Linked DNA regions of Homo sapiens: all the other regions are linked to region 4. The links are contacts of gene promoters, found by promoter capture Hi-C in blood cells and fetal thymus (Javierre and others, 2016). All regions are on one chromosome and are shown on one strand. The core of a region is centred on a gene start or on the middle of the fragment in contact, and the rest is flanking DNA. Distances in the headings are between cores, read along the strand shown. Region 1 overlaps FNIP1 (folliculin interacting protein 1). Region 2 overlaps FNIP1 (folliculin interacting protein 1). Region 3 overlaps FNIP1 (folliculin interacting protein 1). Region 4 holds the start of ACSL6-AS1 (ACSL6 antisense RNA 1). Region 5 overlaps FNIP1 (folliculin interacting protein 1). Region 6 holds the start of RAPGEF6 (Rap guanine nucleotide exchange factor 6). Region 7 overlaps RAPGEF6 (Rap guanine nucleotide exchange factor 6).

Region 1 (3,775 bases), core at 228-2,727, 350 kb before region 4:
TTGAAGTGTATAGATAGGACTACTGGTGAAAAAAATGGGAGAAGAACATGGATAATTCGGTAAGAGTAAGAATCAGAAATAGAAGTAGATGCAAATGGCTACATTTGTGAGAAATGATATTGAGAAATAAGAAGAGAATGGCAAAGGAAAAGTCCAAAAATATACCTTGGGAAGATTTTCCATGGAGCCCCAAATTTATATTTGTTTTTTATAAAACAGTATTCAAATATTTATTCATCTCTTGCCAGGGATAAATCACTTTGTTATTCATCACTTAATTATGGAAATATAATTTTGGCAAAGATATATACATCTGTGATATTGTGAAATATATTCAGCTGACCAACAACATGGGTTTGAACTACAGGTCCACTTAGATGCCAATTTTTTCCAATATAATATATGGGTAAAGTTTTTGGAAATTTGCAACAATTTGAAAAACTTAGACAAAACCGTGTAGCCTAGAAATACGGAAAATAAGAAAAGTTAGGCATGTCATGAATACATAAAATATATGTGGATGCATGCCACAGTAGTGTGCATTTGTAATCCCAGCTACTGGGGAGGCAGAGGCGAGAGGATCAATTGAGCCCAGTAGTTCGAGAGACTAACCTGAGCAACATAGTAAGACCCATCTCAAAACAAACAAACAAACAAAAAAATGTAGGTAGTATATTTTATCATTTACTACTATAAAATACAAATCTACTATAAGAAGTTAAAATTTATAAAAACTTACACACTTACAAGGCATACAAGGTGACATTCACAGCCCAGAGAAATGTTAACAAATGTATAGTATTAAATCATAACTGCATAAAACTAGCTGTAGTACCTACTGCACTACTATAATAGTTTTGTAGCTACTTCCTGTTGCTATTGCCCAGAGCTCAAGTGTTGCAAGTATGTACTTCAAACACCCTGCCAACTTAATCATCTCTGCAGGAGCAGTTCCGCTCTCCAATAAACAGCATATCTCAGTTAAAAACTAATCTCTTTTCGAGGCCATCCTGGCTAACACAGTGAAACCTCGTCTCTACTAAAAATACAAAAAAAAAAAAAAAATTAGTTAGGCATGGTGGCAGGCGCCTGCAATCCCAGCTACTCCAGAGGCTGACGCAGGAGAATGGCGTGAACCCGGGAGGTGGAGCTTGCAGTGAACCAAGATTGCGTCACTGCACTCCAGCCTGGGTGACAGAGCAAGACTCCATCTCAAAAAACAACAAAACAAAACAAAACAAAAAAAAAACTAATCTCTTTTGGGAGGCTAAGGCAGGAGGATCCCTTAAGCCCAGGTGTTTGAGGCTGCAGTGAGCTATGACTGCACCATTGCACTCCAGTCTGGGTGACAGAGTAAGACTCTGTCTCTAATAAAACAAAAAGCCAAAAAGATAACAAAACTGGTGTTTAAAGGTTCTCATGTATTTTCCATCATGGTTAGTGTGATACAGCAAACCCTGAATAACATCATGGGATCCACATGGAGTACCACTAGTGATGCTGGAAATGCTCTCAAGAAAAGTAGAGAGAAGTTAAGATATTACAAGAAAAACTTGAATGGCTTGATATGGACCATAGATTAAGTAGCTGTGGTTACCCATCATTTCAAGATCAATGAATCCACCATGAGGACAGTTGTAAAATAAGAAAAGGAAATTTGTGAAGCTGTCATTGCAGCAATGCCACTAGGTGTGAAAACCAGGTACTTTTGCAGAATACCTTTTAAATCTCATAATGAAAATGCAGCTCTTATGTGGGTACAGGGTTGCTGTAAGAAAGCTCTAACTAAAGACTCTAATATTATTTTTTAGATGAAGTCATTATATGACAACTTAAAGCAAAAGGAGGGTAAAGGATCTAAAGCTGGAGAATTTAACGCTAGGAAAGTATGGTTTGATAATTTTAGAAAGAGTTTTAGCTTAAAAAATATCAAGATAACAGCTTTTGCTGACCAAGAGGCAATACACAAGTTCTTGGACACCATCAAGAAAATCATAGAGGACAAAAGGTATCTGCCTGAACAGGTTTTTATTGCTGATGAAAGAATCCTATTATGGAAAAAGATGCCACAAAGTACATTTATTAGTAAGGAACAGGAGCAAGCACCGAGATTTAAGGCAGGAAGGGATAAGCTAACTCCACTGTTTTGTGTAAATGCAGTCATGATTAAGATCAGAACTACCCTTATATAAAGAGCTGCTAACCTCTGGACCTTGAAGGAAAAAAGATAAACACCAGCCCTGCTAGTCTTCTGATAGTAGAACAAGAAAGCCTGAAAAACAAAAACTCTTTTTCTGGATTGAATCCACCCATGCCTTTTTTTTTTTTTTTTTTTTTTTTGAGACAGAGTCTCGCTGGGTTGCCCAGACAGCTCACTGCAACCTCCAACTCCCAGGTTCGAGTGCTTCTCCTGACTCAGACTCTCAAGTAGCTGGGACTACAGGCACCTGCCACCATGCCTGGCTCATTTGTGTATTTTTAGTAGAGACGGGTTTTCACTATGTTGGCCAGGCTGGTCTCGAACTCCTGACCTCATGATCCACACACCTCAGCCTCCTAAGGTGCTGGGATTACAGGCGTGAGCCACCACGCCTGGCCCCACCCATGCTTTATTTCTAAAATCAAGAAGTACCTTGCCAGTAAGTGACTGCCTTTTAAAGTTCTTATGTTGGACAATGCCCCTGGCCACCCAGAACCCTATGAGTTTAACACTGCAAGTGTTGAAGTAGTCTAATTGCCCCTAAACACATCTCTAACTCAGCCTCTAGATCAGGGTGCCATAAGGACCATTAAACACAATATTCTATAAAAATGATTGTCAGTGCTATGGAAAAGAACCCCAGTGGAGAGAATATCATGACAGTCCGAAGAATCACGCCATAGAAGATGCCATTGCTGTTACAGAAAAAGCCATGAAAGCCATCAAGCCTGAAACAATAACTTCCAGCTGGAGAAAACTGTGTCCAGATGTTGCACACAGAACTTAACAACAGAGCCCATCAAGGAAATGATGAAAGAGCTTGAAAATAAGGCAAAAAAAAAAAAAAAAAAAAAACGGTGGGTGAAGGCTTTCAAGATACGGATCTTGCAACTTTGGGAGGCCGAGGCAGGCGGATCACAAGGTCAGGAGATTGAGACCATCGTGGCTAACATGGTGAAACCCTGTCTCTACTAAAAATACAAAAAAATTAGCCGGGTGTGGCAGTGTGTGCCTGTAGTCCCAGCTGCTGGGGAGGCTGAGGCAGGCGAATGGCATGAACCTGGGAGGCGGAGCCTGCAGTGAGCCAAGATCACGCCACTGCACTCCAGCCTGGGCAACAGAGCAAGACTCCATCTCAAAAAAAAAAAAAAAAAAAGATATGGATCTTGCAGAAATTCAAGAGCTAACAGACACCATACCAGAGGAATGAACAAAAGACAACTCGATAGAGACGAGTGCTTCCAAACTAGTGCCAGACAATGAGGAACAAGACGTAGAAGCAGCAAGGCCAAAAAACAAATTGACGTTAGACAATCTAGCAGAAGGGTTCATATTATTCAAGACTGATTTTTATTTCTTTTACCACATGGGCCCTTCTATGATACTGAAACCGCCTTTGCAAAAGTTATATTAGTGAGAACATTATAACAGTGAACTAAGCTAACCCAAAACCCATTTTGGCCTTTCCCTTAATTATTCCTGGGGTATGGGGCCAAGCTAACTTCGGAAGACATTTAGGCTACAGCTTTTTGTTTTTTTTTAAGGTGTGCAATTTTATTCAACTGGTCTCAAGTC
Region 2 (4,018 bases), core at 1,374-3,873, 280 kb before region 4:
TGAACTCATCCTTTTTTATGGCTGCATAGTAGTCCATGGTGTATATGCGCCACATTTTCTTAATCCAGTCTATCACTGTTGGACATTTGGGTTGGTTCCAAGTCTTTGCGCCAAAAAATATTTACTATCTGGATCTTTAAAGTAGAAGTTGCTGAACCTGATTTAGATTACAAACAAGGTTTCCCCTCATATTTTAGACCTAAAAATATTTTCTAATTATCTGTTAGGGAGAGGTGGAAGCTAGGAGGAAGAAGAGGAGAATAAATCATTAGGCAAATATCCAAAAACTATCTTTACTGTAATATATTACAAATAACCTATATCACTTCTTTTAGTGTCTCTTTCAGGATAAGAAAAATAAAAGTACTTTATGCTTTTAGTGCAAAATATCCTTTCTAGAGATTTTAGGAATTATCAGAACTTAGAAAAGGTGAAAAAACTCTGGTGATTATGGCTAACATCAGTGATTCCAACATGGAATCTTTAATTTCTACTTTAGTAGATCTCTAATTTCTACTTTTAAAAATCAGTATTTTTGGCTTCAATATTTTTTAAGGCATCCATAATATTTTAAAGGATACCCCCCATGGCCGGGCATGGTGGCTCATGCCTGTAATCCCAGCACTTTGGGAGGCCGAGGCAGGCAGATCACTTGAGGTCAGGAGTTTGACACCAGCCTGGCCAACATAGTGAAACCCTGTCTCTACTAAAAATACAAAAAAAAAAAAAAGTCAGCCGGGCGTGGTGGCCTGCGCCTGTAGTCCCACCTACTCTGGAGGCTGAGTCAGGAGAATCGCTTGAACCCAGGACAGAGGTTGCAGTGAGCTGAGATCACGCCACTGCACTCCACCGTGGTGACACAGTGAGGCTCCATCTCGAAAAAAAAAAAAAAAGACTACCTCCCACTTTCCTTCCAAAGAGTTACAGGTATTAGAAACTTAGCTAATAAAACTCTTCCAAACAGGTCTTTTTAAGGCATTAACAATTAATGGGGGCTCTACAGAATTTCTGTAGTCTGGAGTAGCTTCCTTGCTGCCTTTGACCTTGGGTTACCCCCAGGGGCTCTGACTAGCCAATGAGTCTTGCTCTGATATGGCACCTGCAAAATCTCTCTCTGGGGTCTTCCACTGCCTAACTTTAGCCCCAGTAATTTACTAGGTTCTGGCACATGGCCCATGATCCTGACACCAGGCCTGCCTTTGTTTCAGCTTCACTATTCTAATCTTTGCATTAATAGCTTGTAATACCCTGGTGGCTATCATTATATAGTGTATATGTGCAATATCAGTATGGCTGACCTAGGTCAGTCCTGTCTTTAGGGTTAATTTCGTAGGGGATCTGAAAATTGAAGAGCACCAACCCTACAGATTGTGGTAACTCAGGTAACTCAGCGTGGTACCGCAAAACTGAAAAATCAGCATGTTGCCCTAAGACGGAAATCCATTCAACATTCTACTTCCAGATACTGCTTCTAGCAATTCACAGAAACAGAAACCACATCTCATGTTTCTCAACTAAACTCAATTAAGAGTGAAATCTGGCTTCCATGAACTTTTAAACTTAAGGAAAGACAGAAAATCTGAACTTGTGCTGCAGTCCTAAAAGCAGTTGGTTAGTTTTCATACTTTGCACATCTAAAGTGATACATTTCCCCCTGTATCCATAAGCACTTACGTATTGAGACTCCCACAAATACTGCTGCCAGTCCGAGCAGTAAACACTTTGCTGAGCATGAGCTGTGGAGGGGAACTATGAAGAAAAAGAGAAAGAGAGAGACCAAAACTAAAATATAATGACCTTTTGGATTTATTATAAATAAAAATGTGTAAGTCACAGAGGTTTCACAGCATAGCTGCAAGAGCCATGAAGTAGCATTAAAACCATAGAACATGTTAAATGGAGTATGACAAGCTCAATCTGAGTGAAGATCATATAAAATTCTCTCTAAAAAAACGAAAATATCTAAAAATGGGACTCGTTAAAAAAAAATCAGAAAACCTCTCACCGAATCTGATGAATTTTTAAGGTGGATCCTTTGTAGCTCATTGCTACTGAGCCAAACATCATCTCTCCAAGCATATTGGCATCAGAAGAGCACCGAGAACCCTAAACAATAACCACATATTAACAAACTGTGTTAATTAAAAGCTTATGACTATTTCATATGTTGATTTTTATTAAAAATTCTTGATATAGTTATTCTACATTAAGAGTTGTACTTCTACACTGTATACGCTGTTCTGCAACTCGATTTTCTTCCTTTTAAAATGTTTTCTTGATGTAACCATGTTGTTACACATAAATTTGACTAATTCCTTTTAAGAGCTGTACAATATTTTATTGTATGAAAATACTACAGTTTGTCAGACCAGTTCCCTTTACTCACGGGCATTTAAGTCACTTCCAGATTTTTGCTATTACCAATAATGCAAAAGCAGGCATTCTTAACCACATCTTATGCATATGCAATGTTTCTCCAGGATAGATAATAAGTGAAATTCAAAGAATATGCAGAATAATTTTTACTACTCCTGTTGTATATAAGAAGCATCCATAAATGGGGCAATTTATATCTATTTTGTATTTCTGTAAAGACATATCTGTGATCTACAGTTTCAATACTATGCCTATGAAAATCCTAATGGCATTTTTTACAAAAACAGAAAAACATATTAAAATTCACATGAAACCACAGAAGACCACAACCTTCTTCTTCAAGAAGCAGCAGCCAAATCAACCTTGAAAAAGAACAAAGCTGGTGGGCATTACACTTCCTGATTTCAAATTATACTACAAAGCTACAGTAGTGAAAACAGTAAGGTACTGACATTAAGACAGACATATAGACCAATGGAACAGAACAAACAGCCCAGAAATAAACCTACATGTATACAGTCAACTTATCTTCAAGAAGGGTGCTAAGAATACACAATGGGGACAGGATAGTCTCCTTAACAAATGCTTCTTGGAAAACTGGATATCCACATGCGAAAGAATAAAACTGGTGTCCTATATCATGCACAAAAATCAACTGAATATAGATTAAAGGCTTACATGTATGACCTGAAACTGTAAAACTCCCAGAAGAAAACAGGAGAAAAGCTTGATGACATTGGTCTTAGCAATAATTTCACAGATATGACACCCAAAGCACAGGTAACAACAGCAAAAACAGACAAGTGGGACTACATCAAACTAAAATGTTTCTGCACAGCAAAGAAAATAATCAAGAGGGCAAAAAGATAAAATATGGAATGGGAAAAGATAAAATATGGAATGGGAAAAAATACTTGCAAACCATGTATCTGATAAGGGATTTGGCTTCAAAATGTACCAGAAACCCCTACAACTCTATAGTAAAAACTAATAACGCAATTAAGGTCTTGAATAAACATTTCTCCAAAGAATTCATACAAATGACCAACTGATACAGGAGAAACGCTCAACATTTCTAATCAGAGAAATGTAAATCAAAACCACAAAACCTGTCAGGTTGGCTATAATCAAAAAAGCAAAGACAACAAGTGGTGAGGATGTGGGAAAACTGGAGCCCTTGCACATTGTTGTAGGAATGCAAAATGGTATTGTACTTATGGAAAACAACATGGCAAGTCCTCCAAAAATTAAAAATAGAACTACCATGTGATCTGGCAATTCCACTTCTGGGCATTTTTCCAAAATAATTAAAATCAGGATCTCAAAGAGATGTTAGCACTCCTATATTCATTACAGCACTATTCACAATAGCCAAGATGTGAAAATAACCCTAAATGTCCACTGACAGATGCATGGATAAATGAAATATAATAAATACATAGAATGAAACACTATTCAGTTTTCAAAAAGAAGAAAATTCTGCAACACGCAACACGGATGAATCTTAAGGACGTTAGGCTAAATGAAATAAGCCAGTCACAAAGAGATAAATACTGCATGATAAGATAAATACTCCACTTATATGAGGTATTTAAAATAGCCAAATTTACAGAATCAAAGAGTAGAATGGTAGTTACCAGGG
Region 3 (3,977 bases), core at 860-3,359, 300 kb before region 4:
CTGGCCAATATTTGCTTTCTTAAAATATATTTAGCCAAGGTTAAAAAGCCTTAATCTAGGTAGGCAAAAAGGGGATCAGGATTAGGATATGGAGGTCAAAAAGAACTTTAATCTTTAACACTTTTTCAAAGAGAATTGAATTCTGTATTCTTTATATAATTACAAAGTGATTAAATATTGTTTAAAAAAATAATTAAGATGTCAGCCTACTTTAGGCCAGAAATCATGTTCCTGTACACCCAAAAGCTTCAGAGGGTGAAAGTGAAACACGCTTTATGTTTTTTCAAACTGTTAAGAGACTGGCAATTTATAAAGAAGTGAATATTATTTTGCTAGAATTTGGTAGTGTTCTTCCTTAATCTTATCAGCAATGCTATTTTTAAATTAAATCACAAATCTCAAAAGATAGAAGACTTCAAAATAATTGCCAAGGTGTTCAGAAACAAAATCCATAGCTTTTATTTAAAAAAAAAAATAGTCTGAAAACTGGCCCTAGAAGATAACTTCTTTGGATGGTACAATATTCACTATTATATTCTATTCTTAATAATATTCTATCATTAAGTAACTACTATAGAACTTTAAAAATTAAGTCCCATTCACTTATGTAAAAGCATTCATTTAATTTCATCTTTCAGCTTTAATAAAAAATGCGATACTACAATTGAACAAATATCCAAACAACTATAAGCATTAACAATGTACATTTTAGGTCGGGGTCCCCAGCCTCTGGGCCGTGGACCAGTACCCGTCAGTGGCCTGTCAGGAATTGGGTCGAGCAAGCAAGTGAGCGAGCATTACTGCCTGAGCGCTACCTCCTGTCACATCAGTGGCAGCATTAGATTCTCATAGGAGCGCATACCCTATTGTGAACCGTGCATGCAAGGGATCTACGTTGCACACTCTTATGAGAATCTAATGCCTCTGAAACCATGGCAACTCCCCACCTCCCCAGCCCCATCCGTGAAAAAATTATCTTCTACAAAGGGTCCCTGGTTGCCAAAAAGGCTGGGGACTGCTGCTTTAGGTTACAGAATTATCAAAGCGTTAAAACATGAAAACACTTGAAAAGTAATCTTTAATGAGTTCTATAATGCCTATTTCAAGTTTTATACAAAGTTTGAAATACTTCTCCAAATAACTAAAAATGTCAGTTCACCCACAACTTATTACTGTGTGTGATGACTTTGGCTAGACTACAAAATGTGAGTGCAGCCAATTGAAGAAATGTAATCAGTGTCTAACTTAAGAAAAGGTAAATGAAAATGGCCTTTACTCATTTGTTCAATAAAAATGTATTGCTAATGAACTATTTATTTTTTGACATACTCAATATGAATAACTAACATCTATGTCTTCTCTAAAGGCAGATCATCCTTAGTCACTAATGAGTTATTGAGATACATCCTTTCCTTTCTAAACCATTCTAACGGGTCTACCCACCTCTCGTCTCTTACTCCAGTCTCTTCAAAACGCACTACCAAGTGCTCGTTTCAGCAGCCATATACAAAACACACTGCCAAGTTAATCTCCCCAAAGTACAACTTGCAAACAGCCTTAAAGACAAAGTCAGAACTCCCTGGCAAGCACGCTACATTTTTTGTCATCAGGTACTCATTAACTTCGCCAGTTGTACCTCTCACTATTCCTCTTTGTATCCTTTCCCTTCCACAGACTGTTGCAAAAAACTCTGGTGACAGCCACTGATTTTATCAGCTCAACTTCTGGGAATCTCCTCTAAAAAATAATCTGGAAAATTCGCCAAGATGTTAACGATAGGGTAGCAACAATTGTGCAAAAGTAGAAATGGCCTAACAGGGAAACTGTTACTTAAATTGAGGAGACCTACTAAAATATATGTAAGAACCATTTACAATAACTTGAGAAATGTGTATGTGACAATGATGTTTTTTATTTTACTATTTGAGATAGGGACTCACTCTGTTGCTACAGTGCAGAGGCACAATCACAACTCACTACAGCCTCGACCTTCTGAGCTCAAGCACCCCTCCCACCTCGGCCTCCCTAGTAGCTGAGACTACTAGTGTGCTCCCCCATGCCTGGCTAATTTTTAAATTTTTTTTTGTAGAGACCGGGTCTTGCCATGTTGCTCAATCTGAGTTTTTTTAAATGGGCATATAATTTGAAAAATGTAGACACAGCACAATCCCTACCAAGTAAAAGCACAATATGCATAAAAAAGGCCTAAATAAGATTTTTCAGCAATGAGTTACTGTGTTCCCTTTGGGTGGCAAGAATGTCGATTTTCTTGCTATTCTGCTATATCCAATTTTCAGAGCTTTATGTTCCAAAACATCCCATACATCCTTCAAAATGCAGTCCAAATGAAACTTCTTCCCAATAGGAAGTCATTTCACTTTCCCCCAAATTTCTAAAAAACCTTTGTCCTTCCTTTTTAGCTTAGATTCTAATATTTCACAATTTACTATACATATTTGTATCGTATATACTATCTCAGTAGCAACTGACAAAAGTGATCACTCCTTCCTTGAAATACTTTCTGTACTTGGCTTTCCCCAAAAGAATACACTCTTGTTTTTTCTCCTAATTGAATAGCCAATCCTTTTCCTTCGCCTCTGCTGGTTCCTTCTCATCTCGTCAAACTCTTAATGTTAAAATGCACCACAACTCAGGCTTACCATTGCCTGTCCTCTCTTGCCAATCTCCATCAGTTTCATGGCTTTAAATACCATCTATACACTGATGACTTCTCTGGTAAACTCCAGACTCATAAAAACACAAGGATGTCCATATGCAAATATAAAATACCCATCTTCCTTTATCAAATCTGTTTCGCTTGCAGTCTTTCTCACTTCAATGCTGGCAACTTCATCCTTTTAACTGCTTGGCTAAAAAAATCTTAGAGTCAACCTTAATGATTAGTCTACCAGCTAATCAAACTGGCTGTTTTCAAAATATATCTAGAATCCAACTCTTTCTTACCAATTCAATCACTAAAGTGGTTTGCGTATTCATCATCTGGATTACTGTAACAGTATGCTAATTGGTCTCACAACATCTACTTTTGCTCCTAGAAATCTATTATCCACCAGCAGTAAGAGTGATCCTCATAAATAATGTCCTTCTTCCTCCACTGAAAACCCTCCAATGGTTTCCCATCTTTCATACTTTTGTAAGAATAAATGCTAATGTTCTTACAATGGTATCTTATAAGGTCCTACATGATCTAGTCTCACTTCAACCTAGGCACCTTGGCCTCGTAATGCTGCTTAAGTATCAGGCTTACTCCTGCAATAAGGCCTTTGCCCCTGCCTGGAATATCTCGTTCCAGATGGTTGTAGCTCACCTGCTCCGTATTTCTGGACCACATTCACATGTCCTTTAATAAGGGGCATTCCTGACTAGCCTATAAAAATTAGTAATCCTTCCTTGCAGGATCCCTTATATACCGTTCTCCGTTTTATTTTTCTTCACAGGACTTATTACATACATCTATATTCATATGTTTATTTGTCCCATGAGGTCAGAAGTGTTGCTTTTATCACTTCTCTTTAGTTGGTAGAACGGTGTCTACCACATTTTAGTCCCTCAAATATTTATTTACAGAACAAATGGATGAATGATCTTATATCTTTTACTAGACAGTAAGCACCTTAAAAAGGGTTCAATCTATTTGCATCCACCAGAGCACTTTATAGGACACATGCACAACGTCTGTTAATTTTTCTGCCAAATTAATAAATATAATGCTTAATTGGGAGAATAAGATTTTAAAAGGAAAATACATAAATAAATAACTATGCTTACCTGTTCTATTGCACTCTTTAATTTGTTCATGTGGCTTTCAAAGAGAGGAAAATGTGAAAAAAAGAATTCATTAAATTTGTTATTTTCATCTTCATCTTTGGACAATGAAAAGATTACCCCAATTGCAATCTTCTTTTTCCGCACAATTCCTGGGTTAGGGCCACAGCTTTCATCTGAGAGATTAAAGC
Region 4 (3,932 bases), core at 973-3,472:
TTGCCCAACACCTGCCCTCTCCACACAGGGATTCAAGCTTCTCTCTGCTGTGAGAGAAGGGTTTGCTCTCCATTTTCCTCTTGGGTTTTAATTAGATTCACAGAACCACATAAGACCAGGGCAGAAATGGAGCAAAGAGCCTCCCTGACTTGGGAATTGCCAGGTGGGACCCACTGTACATCCCCCATGAGATAGAGGCCCAGGATACGATACGGGGTTGCCAGGTTACATGGTGGCTCACCTGCCAAGCTTCCCCAAGGAGCCTGATCATAGCTCTGATGGTTCAATTAAGCCCCTTGAATGTAGAAAGGCCCAGCTAAGGCTGGCTGTGACTGAGTACTTTACAGAGCCACCTGTTGCAACTAGCCCAAGCTCACTGTGAGCATGCCTCCCTTTAGCAGCCTCCACTGCCCGCTGGCCTCCCCATCCTCATGACAGTACCTCTCAAAAATCTCACTCACCCTAAGCCCTGCTCAGGGAATGTGGGTCCACATTCCTGATGCTAGCACCAGGAAGCCAGGCACAAACAATGCTTTCAGGAACTTTAAAATATGAATAGCCTTGAGAACAGAGGAGCAAACAGATACACAGTGTCTTTCACACGCTCTGAGATAAACGTTGCCCTCACCATGAATTAGGCAGGACAAAGTTCTCAGAGCAAAGAGGGACAGCAGGGGCTAAAAAAACAGCAGTAGTCCCTTTGGAAATATTTACAGGGTATGATAACCAGGACTGATGGTGTGGACGAGTTCAGATCCTTCCACGCCAAGCCCTGGGACAGCAGGCAGGACCCTAGGAATACTGACCAGGGTCACCATCACCTCACAGGCACAGGGACACTCCCTGGCCAGGCCCTCCTGTGCAGGAAGCCAAATCCTGTGGCTGTAACACGATCCTTTGCCTTTCCGGCCATGTCCACGTTAGGACTGCTGGTGTCCCGGCCTCAGGAGCAATGATTCATTTCTGCCACTGGCTCAAACTTAGGACACACTGCAAACTAAGCTTGAACCAGTAAAGGGCATATGGGCTGCTCATGGCGAGGCCATGCACTCAGAGCTCAACTGCAGGTGGCTGGGGTACAAGCAGGATGGGATGCGACCTCCTCCAGCTAGAGGGAAGCTCCTTGAAGTAGGGAGGGTCCTGCCAATATATGGTTGGGGGTCACTGAGGTGGGGGGAGCAACAGAGGGATTTGCTTGCCTGCTTGTTCACTTAGGAGCCCTGCTGGTCTCCTGGGGACACGTGCTAGGGGAGAAATGCACAAAAGACAGAACCTGAGACATCCTTAGCCAGGGAGGGAGAACAAGGAGAGGATCCGAGCTGGGTGGGAAAGGGTAGAGAACAGGGCTATCGAAGAGGGACAGAAGTGGGTTGGTAAGTCACAGGAAGAGCCTGTAAGATGTTGGGGCCCCTGGCAGGAGCCCTCACACAGTGGCGGGAAGGAGGCAGAGGCCTGTCTGCACTGAGGACTGGGGCAGGAAGCTGAGGCTGGCAGGATGGCACTTAGCTATGGGAGAAAGGAAAAAGATGGTGATGGGTACTGTATATCTGCCTCATGCCTTCAGAGTCACAGCCCACAAGCTAATGGCACTCAGCCCTGGGGATGCAAAAGTGCCCCAGGCAAGCTGTGCTCCTACATCCTTGGCAAAGGGATTGCTGCTGCAGCCAGGATCCGGCATGGCTCCTTCACCTACCATTCCAGAGTCACTGAATTTTTTTGTAGACTAGAAAGTGAGCAAGACAAAAAGAGTTTTGCCCTTGGTTAAGGGCACATTTTCTGGCAAATTTGGTAAATAGCTGAATATTCTGGCATCCCCATAGTCTGACAAAATTCCTCTTCTGAATGCCTCAAGAAGAAACAAATCTGAATTTCCTCCAGTTTAGCAAAAGGCTGTGCTGGTCAACGGGAATCTGCCACCTCCTGAATCCCCCCTCTGGAGGTCAGGCGGCACAGCAGCTGCAGCCTTAAGCTGCTCTCCCTCCGGCAGCAAGCGGTCAAGTTCTGCTGTTGGCCTGTGAGAGCCTACAGTGTCCACAGAGTTAACATTAGACTGGAGCGGCCCAGCCCTCAGCGGGCAGGAGCACTGGGAACTCAGGCCTCCTTTTCAAGGCCAGGATGAATGGGAAATATGCAAATGGCCGCCTCCCAGGAGCGGCAGGGGAGGGCCTGCTGCTGGCAGGAGGGCATCACTCCACTTGGGTCTGTCACATGAAAGGGTTTGTATTCCTGCCGCTGGCCGGCTCCTGGCCAGGCTGGGGCTGTTCTCACCAGAAAACAAAAATGTCTTTCAGACCAAAGCAAAACGAGGCCCCAGCTGGCCCAGGCAGGCCATTGGGCGTTGTTCACACTGACCCACTATGAACACCAATCACTGGGGCTCTCACTTTGCACCCACTGGAAGGAACCCATCATCTTTGGAGACGGAACTGGAGGCCTCGGTGGCTGCTGAGGAAAGCACTACGTAAGTTCGGGGGGATGGAGGTGGGATCCAGAAAGAGGGTCAGCCCCCTCTGAGGCTCTGTTGGTTTTGTGCTTTTCGAAAACAGTAGTGGCGGAATCTGGAGTAGCACCCTTTTTTTGGATAAGGAAACTTCAGTTATTCTCACAGTGTTGATGGTAAACATGGAGAAAGAAATGGGAAGAAAAAAGTGCTGGTACACAAGAAGACCCTGCAGTGCACAGAGAGGACTTTCAATAATGGAGGGCACGTGTGTCCTCTGCCTGGTGCCCACACTCCTGCTGCCACAAGTGCCCTCGAGTGGGAGGTGGGGATAAGGGCAGCCCAGAGCCCCATGTGCGGGATCACTAGCTTCCAGGGCTGGGGCTCCTTCTTCAACCAAGGCTCCATGCCAAGGTCAGGCTTCTATCCTTTTTTTTTTTTTTTGGCTGACTTTCAGCAGCCAGAACACTGCTTCTCTGACACCCCATGGTCACCAGGAGCTGCCTATTAACCACAGCACAGACCTTGTGCCCTGTGGAGCATGGATGCCACTCAGACTCCCACTACCAGGAGAAATAGCACAGCAAGATCTCAAGCACACATGTGGCCGTTGAGCCTGAGAGGACATCTAGGACAAAACCACTTTGGAGTTGATTTTGAACCAACAGGTGGGTTGGTGGATGCTCCACAGATCTCCTGAAATCCAAGGGAGATATGTCTTGTCAGCCTCTGGGGCTAAAGGAAACTGGTATTCGTTTGGGCCACACAGTATCTTCATGAAGCCAAGGTGCCAGGCATGTCTCTGTGAGAGGTCATGGAACTGTCCAGGGAGCAGAAGCAGGAGACAGAGGAGACAGGACACTTCAGAATGACCTAGAAAAGTTGGTTCCACAGGTCATAGCCTTCCATATCTGGTCTGTGGCAAGGAGATCGGGGACACATGCACCCAAATCCCCTACCAGCCTACTGGATGGGGGAAGGCCCAACCTCCATTTCTCTCTAAACCCTCCCTGCCACCACAGACAGACCTAGGCTTAGGGGAGTTGGCCTACAGAATATGCATGAGTTGGCTGGGCATGGTGGCTCACACCTGTAATCCCAGCACTTTGGGAGGCTGAGATGGGTGGATCACCTAGATCACCTGAGGTCAGGAGTTTGAGAACAGCCTGGCCAATGTGGTGAAACCCCGTCTCTACCAAAAATACAAAAAAATTAGCCGGGTGTGGTGGCAGGCACCTGTAATCCCAGCTACATGGGAGGCTGAGGCAGGAGAATCACTTGAACCCAGGAGGCAGAGGTTGCAGTGAGCCAAGATCACGCCATTGCACTCCAGCCTGGGCAACAACAACAAAGCTCTGTCTCAAAAAAAAGAAAAAAGAAAAAAAAATGCGTGAGTTGAAGGTGTCCTCAGAGAATCACATCCAGCCCATCTGCTGGAAAGCACAGTCACGATGAACACTGAAGTTCTCCAGCCACTAAGCAGGGTCCTGGG
Region 5 (3,577 bases), core at 242-2,741, 260 kb before region 4:
ATATTAACACTTGGCATTTTAAATTGTCAAAGTGTTTTCTCAGGTTGCCATCTGTCTTTTAACTTTCCTTATGGTGTTGTTTTCTGTTTTATCATGCAAGTTGAAAAAAAATTGGCTGTCAAATTTGTCAATCTTTTACTTTATGGCTTCTGAATTTTAACTCATAGCTAGAAATATCTTTGCTTGAGACAGAGTCTCACTCTGTTGCCCAGGCTGGAGTGCAGTGGCATGACTGCAATCTTGGCTCACTGTAGCCACCGCCTCCTGGGATCAAGCAATTCTCGTGTCTCAGCCTCCCTAGTAGATGAAACTACAGGCACGTGCCACCACACCCGGCTAATTTTTGTACTTTTTTTTTTAGTAGAGACGGGGTTTCACCACGTTGGCCAGGCTGGTCTTGAACTCCCGACCTCATGTGATCCACCCTCCTCAGCCTTTCAGCCTCCCAAAGTGTGGGATTACAGGCATGAGCCACTGCATCCGGCCTTTTTTTTTTTTTTGGCCAGCGGGGAGAGGGTCTTGCTTTGTCACTTAGGGTAGAGTGCAGTGGCGTGATCCTGGCTCATTGCAACCTCCACTTCCTGGGCTCAAGTGATTCTTCTGCCTCAGTCTCCCAGTAGCTGGGACTACAGACACTCAGCACCACACCCAGCTAATTTTTATGTTTTCTGTAGAGACGGGGTCTTCCTATGTTGGCCAGACTGGTCTCAAACACCTGGCCTCAAGTAATTCACCCATGTTGACCTCCCAAAGTGCTGGGTTTACAGGCGTGAGCCACTGCACCCAGCCTAGAGATACCTTTTCCACTCCACAGATATATAGGAACTCCCTCATTTTTTCTTTTGTAATGTTATAGTTTTATATTTTTATATTTAAATGTTTGATATACTTGGTTTCATCCTGATGTACACTGTAAGATATGAATCCAAATTAAGGCTGGGCACAGTGACTCATGCTTGAGCCCAAGAGTTTGAGACCAGCCTGGATAAAACAGTAAGACGCCATCTTTAAAATAATAATAATAGTAAGTAGTAACAGTATGAGTCTAAATTAATCTTTCTTCCACATGGCTAATTGTCTCAACACCATTTAAGATGATGCCTTAATCATATACCAAAATTCCTGAACGTATTTGGATGTATTTCTGATCCTCTATTTTGTTCCATTAGTCTATTGCCTATTTATGTGTCAATAACACACTGTTTGGCCAGGCGTGGTGGCTCACGCCCGTAATCCCAGCACTTTGGGAGGCCGAGGTGGGTGGATCACGAGGTCAGGAGATGGAGAACACCCTGGCTAACACAGTGAAACCCTGTCTCTACTAAAAATACAAAACGTTAGCCGGGCGTGGTGGCCGGTGCCTGTAGTCCCAGCTACTCGGGAGGCTGAGGCAGGAGAATGGCGTGAACCCAGGAGGCGGAGCTTGTAGTGAGCTGAGATTGCGCCGCTGCTCTCCAGCCTGGGTGACAGAGTGAGACTCCAGCTCAAAAAAAAAAAAAAAAAAAAAAAAACACTGTTTTAGATACTGAGACTGTGCAGTATATTTTCAAATGTGATAGGACTGGCTCATCCTCACTGCCCTTCTTTTTCAGTTTTCCAACCAATCATTGCTAATTTTTTTCCATTTGAACTTTAGAATCCACTATTTAGTTCCAGACACTACCCCCACCCCAAACACACAAAAATAAGGATAACATTGTTTCTGTGATAGCATTATTTTACAAAGCACTTTGGACAACTTTATAACATTGACTACTGCCATGGAATATGTTTAGCCTTTCCATTTGTTAAGGTACGTTTTTACGTCCCTTAAGAAGACTTTTAAAGTTCTAAACTTACAGATTTTGTTAAGTGTATGCATAGGCAACTTTGTCATTTTAATTTCTATTTTAAATGAATGTCTCACTTTTATGTGTTCAAACTGGAAGCTATTTGCATATATTGAGCTTACTGATTTCTGTATATTAACCTAAATCCAATTATCTAACCAAATCCTATGTGCAAATGTGATATCATAAATAAGACTCAACTATTCAATTAGCACTGTACGATGCTTCGGAGTGTTTCTCATGTCTTAAAATCTGTAATCATCTTTCCAAAGTTATGTGAATTTACTGATGTACAACTTTATCCTTGTTTAGAATCAGTGAAAGCTGATACATGTGAATGGTCATATAACTTAACTGGGAACTCATGAAATAGCATTGCACTGTTGTTGACATAAAAACAATGTCTAGGATAAGGATAATAGTGTGATAAAATCAGAATGGATCCATTTGGCTATGTTAGTGTTCATATCGAAACCATATCTCAATATATTTTTCTACCACGGGAAGGTTCTTCTGTCAGAGATGTTGAACCAGAGCAACTCCATCTTGAATAGGGGCTGGGTAAAATAAGGCTCAGACCGACTGGGCTGCATTCCCAGATGGTTAAAGCATTCTAAGTCACAGGAGGAGATAGGAGGTTGGCACAAGACATAAGTCATAAAAACCTTGATGATGAAAAAGCCTGCAGTAAAGAAGCTGGCTAAAATGCACCAAAACCAAGATGGCGACAAGAGTGACCTCTGGTCATCCTCACTACTACACTCCCACCAGCTCCATGACAGTTTACAAATGCCACTGGCAACATCAGTAAATTACAGTATATGGTGTAAAAAATGGGAGGCATGAATAATCCACCCCTTGTTTAGCATACAATCAAGAAATAACCATAAAAACCCACAATCAGCAGGCCTCGGGGCTGGTCTGCCTATGGAGTTGCCATTCTTTATTCCTTTACTTTCTTAATAAACTTGCTTTCACTTTACGGATTTGCCCTGAATTCTTTCTTGCTCAAGATCCAAGAACCCTCTCTTGGGGTCTGGATCCAGACCCCTTTCCGGTAACACTTCTTTAAGATCACTACACATATTCACTTTAATTGGGTTTTATAATTCAACAGTCATTTTTCATAAAATATATAACAGATCTGAAAAAATGAGTTCTGAGGAAGCTATACACTGATTAACAATTTTATTTCAACTTACATAAGACACTATTTGAGCATGCAAAGTACTTTGGTTTCTGAAGCATAATCAAAGCATTTATGTAGTTCACTTTGTATAGAATTTAAAATGTAATAAAATACATAGCTTCCTAATTTTCTCCCAAAACCCATTAAATATACTCTACATACACAATGTTTGCTTTGCATGGAAATACAAAAATGATCTGCTTATATTAATAAACTGCTGTTATATTCTTCATTGACAATTCTTTGGTTCAACCAAACGCAGAAATGGATCAATATTCCACTGTGAAATATTGCCTTCTCTCACACTCCAGATAAAAGGTACTCAAAGTGAATTATGATCATCTATAATCTTTACAAGGAAAACTGCCATGTGTCTTACACATTTAAAAGGACTCCAGTAAGTATTTTTACAATGACTATTTTTTAACGCTGAAATAGCTTCACAGTAAACAATCAATAGGATTTTGATTTAATTAAATACACTCAAACATATTGAGTGAGCCCAAATATTACTATCTTCTACTCCTACTTGGCAATTTTCAAATGATATTTTTCAAAA
Region 6 (3,561 bases), core at 723-3,222, 370 kb before region 4:
CCCAGGAGGCGGAGGTTGCAGTGAGCAGAGATCGTGCCACTGCACTCCAGCCTGGGCTATAGAGGGAGACTTTGTCTCAAAAAAAATAAAATAGGCAATTTCAAAATAAATAATTCTGCTGTTAAAGAGCAGTAGGATTTTTCCATTAAAATGTGAATTTAGTAGCACAAGTAATGTTGAAAATTAAAAGCAGCCGGGCAACTTGGCTCACACCTGTAATTCCAGCACTTTGGGAGGCCAACGCGGGCAGATCACTTGAGGTCATGAGTTTGAGACCACCCTGGGCAATATGGTGCAACCCCGTCTCTACTAAAAATACAAAAAATTAGCCGGGCGTGGTGGCGCCTGCCTGTAATCCCAGCTACTCCGGAGGCTGAGGCAGAAAAATCGCTTGAACCCGGGAGGTAAAGGTTGTAGTGAGCCAATATCGCGCCATTGCACTCCAGCCTGGGTGACAGAGTGAGACTGTTTCAAATAAAAAATAAAATAACATTAAATTAAATTAAATTGAAACCTGCAATACACATCGTAAGCCTTGTATAATACTTTCCAATGCTATAAAGGCTGTAAGATAATTCGCCTACTGAAATTCATAAATCAGCTCACATTGACTTCAAGAATCATCATAAGGAAACAAACACTCATCGAATTATAAATGTATATCTCAAAAAGAGAACTCTGGAAAGTGGTAGAATTTGTGTTGTTCCTATGCAAACATCAGGATCTTCAATAACATAATTTGACCTATCATGGCTTCCGTTGTGACCTGAATAATTGTCACGACCCAAAAGGTCAGCCCAACGTTACTGAGACTCAGTATGCAAAACACTACATATCTGAAAAACTCCAAAGTGAAGAATTAACCAAAGCATTTCATTTCATTTACTGCAACTTTAAACAAAACAATCCAATAATCCACTCACACTGTTTAGTGTTTTGTTTAGAAAATATGTCCCACTTGTTATAGAAACCTCCAAATCAAGGAAAACCTTCCCCAAAACCTTAGCATTCTACCGGGATAAGCAAAGCTAACAGGTTTTAGTTATATGCCTGAAAACTAGCCTTCATGAAGGTCGAATGAAAAATCTTTTAAGCTGATGCCATAACTGTTAACTCGACACAGCAAATTTTGGATCCAAGTACAAAATACTGTAAAATTTCCCAGTGACAGTCTGAAAAAGTACCTACAGTGGTGTTCTTTAAACATGCATCATCTACTACAGAATTCACCATTTGACTGGATGTAAACTTTTAAACTAACTTTGAAAACTTTATCTTTTTTTTAGGCAACTGTACAATATTTCAGAGACCTTTAAAGAAAAACTATTTCTAAATTACATGGCTGAGATACTTCCCTTACAATTTCCATCTCGTTTTTCATAGTCTACTTAAACGAATGGGCATCTAACTGCGAAACTCATATTACCCAACTCAGAAAATACGACTTAGTAATGGTGCTTTCTTAACGACACTCAGAAGCCCCCGGCAAGGACGGGTACGCGGGTTAAGACCGCATCACAGGCAGGAAGGGCGGTCGGCACCCTGCTGGCGACAAGGGCCTGGGTCAGGGAAGAGACTCAAGCGAACAGATTCCCAGTAGCAGGTGCGAGACTCTGGCAAGAGGGCAGTCGCCGCGGATTTCGGACAGACAGGAGGATGCTGTCTACTGGACTGTGAGACGCACATAAAGGTCAACCAGCCTCACCTCGGGAGTCCGCTCGGGTGGCTTCTTCCTCAACGCCTGCCTAGCGCCAGGGTCCACGGGTGAGTTCATGGCCACGGCCCGGGTACTCCGCAGCCTGCCCTTAGCAGCCCACGCCACAGTTCATTCACACTAGGTAGCGGGTGCGGTACCTTTCCCCCGCCCCAAGGAGGGAACTTCGCGCCGTAACAAGGTCCGAACTCTAGCAAACAACCCTTCGCAACGCCCGCCTAAGGCCTCTACCCACGCGCGACTGGCCGGAGACAAGTCTGCGCGGGGGCGGGGGAGAGTAAGTGCGCATGCGCAGCACGCACGCGCACGCTAAGAAACGCCCAAGGGAGTAACTCCACTGTGACGTTAAAATTGGGGCGGTGCGAGTAAGTCGTTTCCTGCTGTCGTCGTGAGATTTAAAGACACCTCGCGAGACCTCACCTAAATCAGTCACGGGGTCTGCCTTGGCGTTGTGGTTCCGTCTTCTCCATCCGTTGGAGACACCGGAAACGCGCTGAGGACCTGAGCAAAAATAGCATTTTGGGGCAGAACCGTGGGGAGGCGTTCTGACTGGAGAGAACTGTTGTGCCCAAATCCGGAAGCCCAGGGTGTGGCCAAGTCCGGCTTTGCGCTCTCCTCTGCAACTTCTACTGCCGACTTTGAATATGCGGAAGTAGAAGCCGCCATTCGGCAAAGAAGGAATTCCACGCACACCTCATATCTCTTTAAATAAAACGAGATCTCTTGTGAAAGCTGCCGACAGAGAAGTGCTTGATCTATTCGAAACGGACGTCCTGAGACCAGGGCAGAGAAAGCAAACATTCACGGCCAGGATAGGCAGCCGGTGCCGCGGCCAGCTCACGATTACCTTTGAGTCAAAAAACTAGATTTAGACTGCGTTCTTGTAACTAAATGCCCGGGGCAGCCCTCCCTCAGGCAACTGCGTTTAGGGTTGGGACTCGAGTGGCAACTTTTGCAATACTTTTTACATTCTAGTCTGCTTCCCAACAGACCGAATAAAGCCAGTTTTGTTTCACTGCTCCCTTGGTAAGAAAAACAGACCACCCTTAGGAGCAGCCAGAGAGCTGCTGAGGCCGTTTCAACAATAAGCTCACTGACAATTCCAGAATCCATCGTTCTAGGATACTCCTTACCCTTTCTCATAAGTTCATAGGTAACTAACTTTGGCGACACCACCTTTCCACTGAATTTTAAGCTCCTTGATGGCTGTAACTACATCTAGGTACACCTTGGTATTTCTCACAGCAGTTAGCATAGTTCACTAAATAACAAGGTGATTTATGATTATGACATGCTTTCCAATTAATGACTGCTTCACAGTAATTTTAATGACGTAATAAGAGTTAAAATTATATTTGAAAACAATGAGAGTTCAGGCTACAACACCGTTTCTGGGACCGGCAATGACTTAAGGACTGTTTTCTGTTGGTCCTGGGGCTTGCCCAAACTGGGAGTTTACAACATACTATTAGCATTTCTCTTTTTCAGGTATAGATCAAAAACTTTACCAGCGAAGTGTGGCATAGCCATTGTAGAAATAAAGTAATTGTGGAAAAAATCACAGGATGTTGCAGACGATCCGTTTTCCTCATTTTTTGTACAAATATAACCTCTCAAAGATCTGCCCAGGATCACAAACAAAAGTTAACCCTTCCATTCTTCAAGGATCAATTTTCAGAGTCACATCAATATTTTGAAAGAGGGAGAAAGAACTATAAAGCATGATCACCATGAACTTGAACTTTAGGGGCAAACAGACCTAGAATTTGTGTCTCTAATATTAGACCTCTTCTAGTTAAGTGACTTGAAGTTATTTAACATCTCTGAACTTCATTTTCCTTATGTTA
Region 7 (4,050 bases), core at 361-2,860, 470 kb before region 4:
GTAAAATGCAAGTACATAGTAGCATAGGCAAAAATACATGAACAAAAATAAAACCAGTAAAATGTACTGGAAAATGAAAAGAAGTATAACAAAATTCTAAGTTTTATGTGTTTAATTGCAATCCAGAGTCAAAATTTCATCAACAGTAACATGAGGGAAGGGGGATGGAGACATGTACTCTTACAAATACTTGATTTACACAGTAGAGTACCAATCCAGAATCCTGCTCATATAATGTTTGCTGGCATTTCATGAAACCTTAGAAGCTGATTTTGAAATTTTGACTCTTCCATATTTGTTAAATCTGGGATCAAAAGTTGGCTATCAGCATTCCAAAGGCTATTTTATTTTGCTGGTTACCTTAAAAAACAACCCCTATATCTCATTCTTAATTTTCTTTAAAGTTTTTTTTACACGGTCTCACTCACTTCCTTTCTACAAGTGGTTTAAACCTTTGTAGTATAGTGCAGCTATCAAGCATCAGCAATGCTTGGGCCATATAGGTGTCATTTTCACTAAAAAGGCCATTTAAGCCTTAGCCAGATAATAGCACAAATACATTGTGTACCTAGGCTTCTTTTCATCTATTTACATTTCAATCAGCTGTTTGCCAAATGGACAGTGAATTTAAATGTCTTTCCAGAAGCTGCCTTTAAGAAAGACATGCAGTGAGCTAGGCCAGATAAAACAGAAAAACACCACGATGCTATCATAGGATTTCTTCCTTAGTCACCATCAACAGGACAACCTTGAAACAAAGACATGATTTCAGACCATACTAAGAAGTGCCTCTATTGTGCCTGTCTGTATGCAAGAGAACCATAAAAAATCTTAATAAATGTTACAATTTAAATGTTTTGAAAAAACACTGTTTTATAATACATACATGAGACAGGAAAGATAACTTGAGTGGCATCAAATTACAGACTATATAAATAGCCACTGTGTATAATAAAACTCACTGAATTAGAGTATATATTTTCCTACAACCTAGCCTGGAAGGTTGTATAGCACTTTGCTTTTTTGTGAGTTATTATGTTTATTTAAAAATGACAAGTATGATAGATGACCTTAAATAGTCTCCAGCTGCTAATGGTTTACTATCTTGAAAATACTTAGAATCATTATTTAAATATTTTCATATAATTGATTTTCATGAGTATTTTCTTCATATTATTTCACTGCTCAAGAATTATCAACTAATCTTTGTAAAATAGCACAATTCAATTGTAAAATAGCACAATTCAATCATAATTTATGACAGCATCATATTAATGAAAAATGTCATATAATCTGGCAATTAGACTAACATACCTAAATATATCAACCATTTAAGAAAATGAAGCAAGTTAGAGTATGATCACTGATAAGTACAGCAATAGCCATAATCAAAAAATAATTCAGTCTGAAGAGAGTACATCTCAAATGCACTGCATTTTAAGTCTACAGATTTAAAACGCACCTTTCAAATCTCTTAGAGGTCACGTTAGAATGTTTTAGATATTTAAATTAAAAAAAAATGGCAATGAGAAAGACTACTTTGTAGTTCTTATTTTTAAAGTTTAGAAAAGAGCGCAATAAAGCTCATTTACAGTTCAAAATAAAATTTAATAACTGGATTAAATCAATTGCTAAGAAAATAACAATTACTTACTTTGGAGGCCCATGGCTGAAGACAATTGGCATAACAGCGAACAAGAAAAGCCATTTCCTAGGCTGGAAAGGGTAGTTTCCTTTTCAAACCAGAGCTACAGTGATGAGTACGGTGATAAAATTCTGTTAAGTTTCTTTTTACAAATCATACACCACTGCAGTGTTTATATAAAGGCAGCCTCTCCAAACCCCTTTTAAAACTGAAATCAGGAGCTTTCAGTATTGTTCTAAATTAAAACGTTCACTTTAACAAGCAAATCACAGTAAATGAAGATGTTTACAATTCTGGCTCAGAATATACAGACATATACATGCGGCCTCAGGCACCTGGCACAGACATGCAGAGTGGTAGCACAACAGTTAATACGGTATCAGTCAAAGCAAATCAGGCAACATGCACCAAATCTGTGTTCCTGGATTCCGTGAAACCTTTCCTCTCTGTAATATAGCTTTGTCTTTTCTTCAACTTATTTCATTCTGTAGAACAAGCACTGCAGTGATTCTTCTGCATCAAAAGCAAACATTGTATCCTGAAGATTAAAGTTTCTTCTTTATATTCTTAACCTCCAGAGGTTTAAAAAAAAAAAAAGTTGAGCAAATGGCAGTTAGATGATATATGCCGTAACAGGTTTGTCCTGTAGAATGTCTAAGAATCTCCAAAATTGTAATTATTTTCTCTATTCACATGCACTGTTTACAGCTCTGCAGCACTGTTCCTTATTCTAATGTATCAGTAAAACAGCACTGTTGATTTAAGTCTAGCTTTTCTGGTTAAACATTTTTATATAATATGGTACAAAACCATTATATCTTCTGCTAAAGCAAGACTGAATGTTAGTGTCTTAATTTCTACTGTCCTTGCCTGTTTCAAAGCAGCTCCCTAAGGAGAAGCTCCTATTGATTCTATGCTCTGCAGTAAGATGAAATATCTAATAAGAAGGAAAGAGAGTGGGAGGAGAATAGAGCTAAAAGGATGACATCACCTGTACAGAAAGCCTCCAGAAACTGCATTAGATCAATTGGCTACTGTATCTGCAGATGTAGCCCCAAGAGCAATTTATTGAAAACATACACACACACACACACACACACACACACACACACACACACACACCCCATCCTCCTTTCCATGAGACACGTCAGCAAGCTAAATTCTTTAAGAAAAAAATTGGCTTGAGCACCCTTTCTACTTCACAGTTTTAAAAATCCATTTTGATTTTTAATTCTGTACATTGATACACAGCTATATTTGGGAAGCCATATTTCCTATTATTATTCAAATGTAATACAGTATTGTCCTCCCAAGGTAAAATTATAAGCTCTGATAAGATACCATTGCATTCCAAATAAACAAGGCAGCCTAGGTTCTCAGATGTCACATGTATTTGTTAACAAGGGGTTTCTGCTTGCAAAATTTGCTATTTATCAAATAACTGTTCTGAAAGATATAACCTTCAGGATCACTCTAAATTAACATTAAGAATATACAAACTAGTACTAAGATTTGTAGGTAGATAGTAAATTTAAATGGAAACAATAGAATTTCATTTTGCAAAGGGAAGCTGGAAAAAAATCAGATGTACACCAATAGTTGCAGCATGCACCTACTTCTTTGAGAAAGAATAATCTACACAACATGGTACTTTCCTGTAGCCCAATGCTGAATTCCTAGAAAAAGACAAGAAGCCAGCAAAACTCACTCAGAAGAAATCAAAGAAAAGGATTAAACCTGCTTCCAGAGTGAGTGTGGACTAAAAAAAATTGCCCCATTTTTCTATAGAAATTACAGAAAAAGATTTTAATTTTGCCACACCCTCTTCCATCTGAAACACAATACCACTAGTACCCATCCTTGTTCTTCATGCTTCTGCTACAAGGCATTAGATACTCCAACTAAGCTTGCAATGGTTGCTCCTAGTGGCCAAAGAAAGACAGTTCCCAATAGTAAAATATAGTTAGTTATACCTCCAGGCGGCAAAATTATGAGAAAAACAATCACTGAACAAATCAAAGCAATATAATTATTTTGCTTTATTTACCTAACACTTTTATTTTGGGGAAAATGGGGTGTGCAACATAAGAGGAGATGTTACCTGGGAGACAGGTCTTTTAACAAAGGACTCCACTGACTGCAGAAGAAACATCTTGTTGTTAAGCACAAAAAAAATAAGTTCTTCAATATCTTTGAGAAAAGTCTGAGTCACTTTCTGAACAACACTATGCTGCCAATCTGAATTACACTGCTACTTATAAAACTAGAATTTAAGTTAAACTAAGTATAATTTTGAACAAAGACAAGTTATGCTTTCAAAATATGTAATTATTTAGATTTTCATAAAGCTTTTAAGAATGTTTTTCTGCCAAAATTCCAAAAGACACAATACCAAAATACACAAT

What was found. Contacts are between HindIII fragments. The CHiCAGO score rates a contact against its expected background, and 5 or more counts as called.
Region 1: a fragment that was not itself captured here is called in contact with the fragment with the promoter of ACSL6-AS1 in region 4 in 6 of 17 cell types (naive CD8 T cells, megakaryocytes, naive CD4 T cells and 3 more); the score reaches 7.5 in naive CD8 T cells.
Region 2: a contact is called between a fragment that was not itself captured here and the fragment with the promoter of ACSL6-AS1 in region 4, in 11 of 17 cell types (M2 macrophages, M1 macrophages, non-activated CD4 T cells and 8 more). The highest score is 13.3, in M2 macrophages.
Region 3: a contact is called between a fragment that was not itself captured here and the fragment with the promoter of ACSL6-AS1 in region 4, in 12 of 17 cell types (M2 macrophages, megakaryocytes, M1 macrophages and 9 more). The highest score is 12.5, in M2 macrophages.
Region 5: a contact is called between a fragment that was not itself captured here and the fragment with the promoter of ACSL6-AS1 in region 4, in 3 of 17 cell types (M1 macrophages, M2 macrophages and megakaryocytes). The highest score is 6.0, in M1 macrophages.
Region 6: a contact is called between the fragment with the promoter of RAPGEF6 here and the fragment with the promoter of ACSL6-AS1 in region 4, in 17 of 17 cell types (megakaryocytes, naive CD4 T cells, total CD4 T cells and 14 more). The highest score is 14.0, in megakaryocytes.
Region 7: a fragment that was not itself captured here is called in contact with the fragment with the promoter of ACSL6-AS1 in region 4 in 6 of 17 cell types (naive CD8 T cells, fetal thymus, total CD4 T cells and 3 more); the score reaches 7.0 in naive CD8 T cells.

Annotation. Positions count from the first base shown.
Region 1 is chr5:131,654,704-131,658,478 of GRCh38, forward strand. The region is part of intron 15 of FNIP1 (folliculin interacting protein 1); the gene reads right to left. It also overlaps the pseudogene ACTBP4. Among named protein-coding and RNA genes, the nearest start is that of RAPGEF6, 21 kb to the left of the region's middle. The HindIII fragment of the contact is 8,856 bases long and covers 1-3,775 here.
Region 2 is chr5:131,717,312-131,721,329 of GRCh38, forward strand. FNIP1 (folliculin interacting protein 1) reads right to left here. Exons shown (of 18, transcript NM_133372.3): 4 at 2,006-2,106; 5 at 1,675-1,749. Among named protein-coding and RNA genes, the nearest start is that of FNIP1, 78 kb to the right of the region's middle. The HindIII fragment of the contact is 954 bases long and covers 2,147-3,100 here.
Region 3 is chr5:131,700,276-131,704,252 of GRCh38, forward strand. It overlaps FNIP1 (folliculin interacting protein 1), which reads right to left. Exons shown (of 18, transcript NM_133372.3): 10 at 3,790-3,977. Among named protein-coding and RNA genes, the nearest start is that of RAPGEF6, 67 kb to the left of the region's middle. The HindIII fragment of the contact is 3,730 bases long and covers 245-3,974 here.
Region 4 is chr5:132,001,351-132,005,282 of GRCh38, forward strand. ACSL6-AS1 (ACSL6 antisense RNA 1) reads left to right here and starts at 2,223. Exons shown (of 2, transcript NR_183256.1): 1 at 2,223-2,461. The region is part of intron 1 of ACSL6 (acyl-CoA synthetase long chain family member 6); the gene reads right to left. RefSeq lists an enhancer at 404-999. The HindIII fragment of the contact is 3,713 bases long and covers 1,001-3,932 here.
Region 5 is chr5:131,738,327-131,741,903 of GRCh38, forward strand. All of the region lies in intron 2 of FNIP1 (folliculin interacting protein 1), which reads right to left. Among named protein-coding and RNA genes, the nearest start is that of FNIP1, 57 kb to the right of the region's middle. The HindIII fragment of the contact is 4,556 bases long and covers 1-3,577 here.
Region 6 is chr5:131,633,257-131,636,817 of GRCh38, forward strand. It overlaps RAPGEF6 (Rap guanine nucleotide exchange factor 6), which reads right to left and starts at 1,973. Exons shown (of 28, transcript NM_016340.6): 1 at 1,706-1,973. The coding sequence starts at 1,774. RefSeq lists enhancers at 1,163-1,745, 1,693-1,782, 1,875-3,074, 2,083-2,332, 2,343-2,542. The HindIII fragment of the contact is 12,440 bases long and covers 1-3,561 here.
Region 7 is chr5:131,530,447-131,534,496 of GRCh38, forward strand. All of the region lies in intron 6 of RAPGEF6 (Rap guanine nucleotide exchange factor 6), which reads right to left. Among named protein-coding and RNA genes, the nearest start is that of RAPGEF6, 100 kb to the right of the region's middle. The HindIII fragment of the contact is 3,878 bases long and covers 1-3,549 here.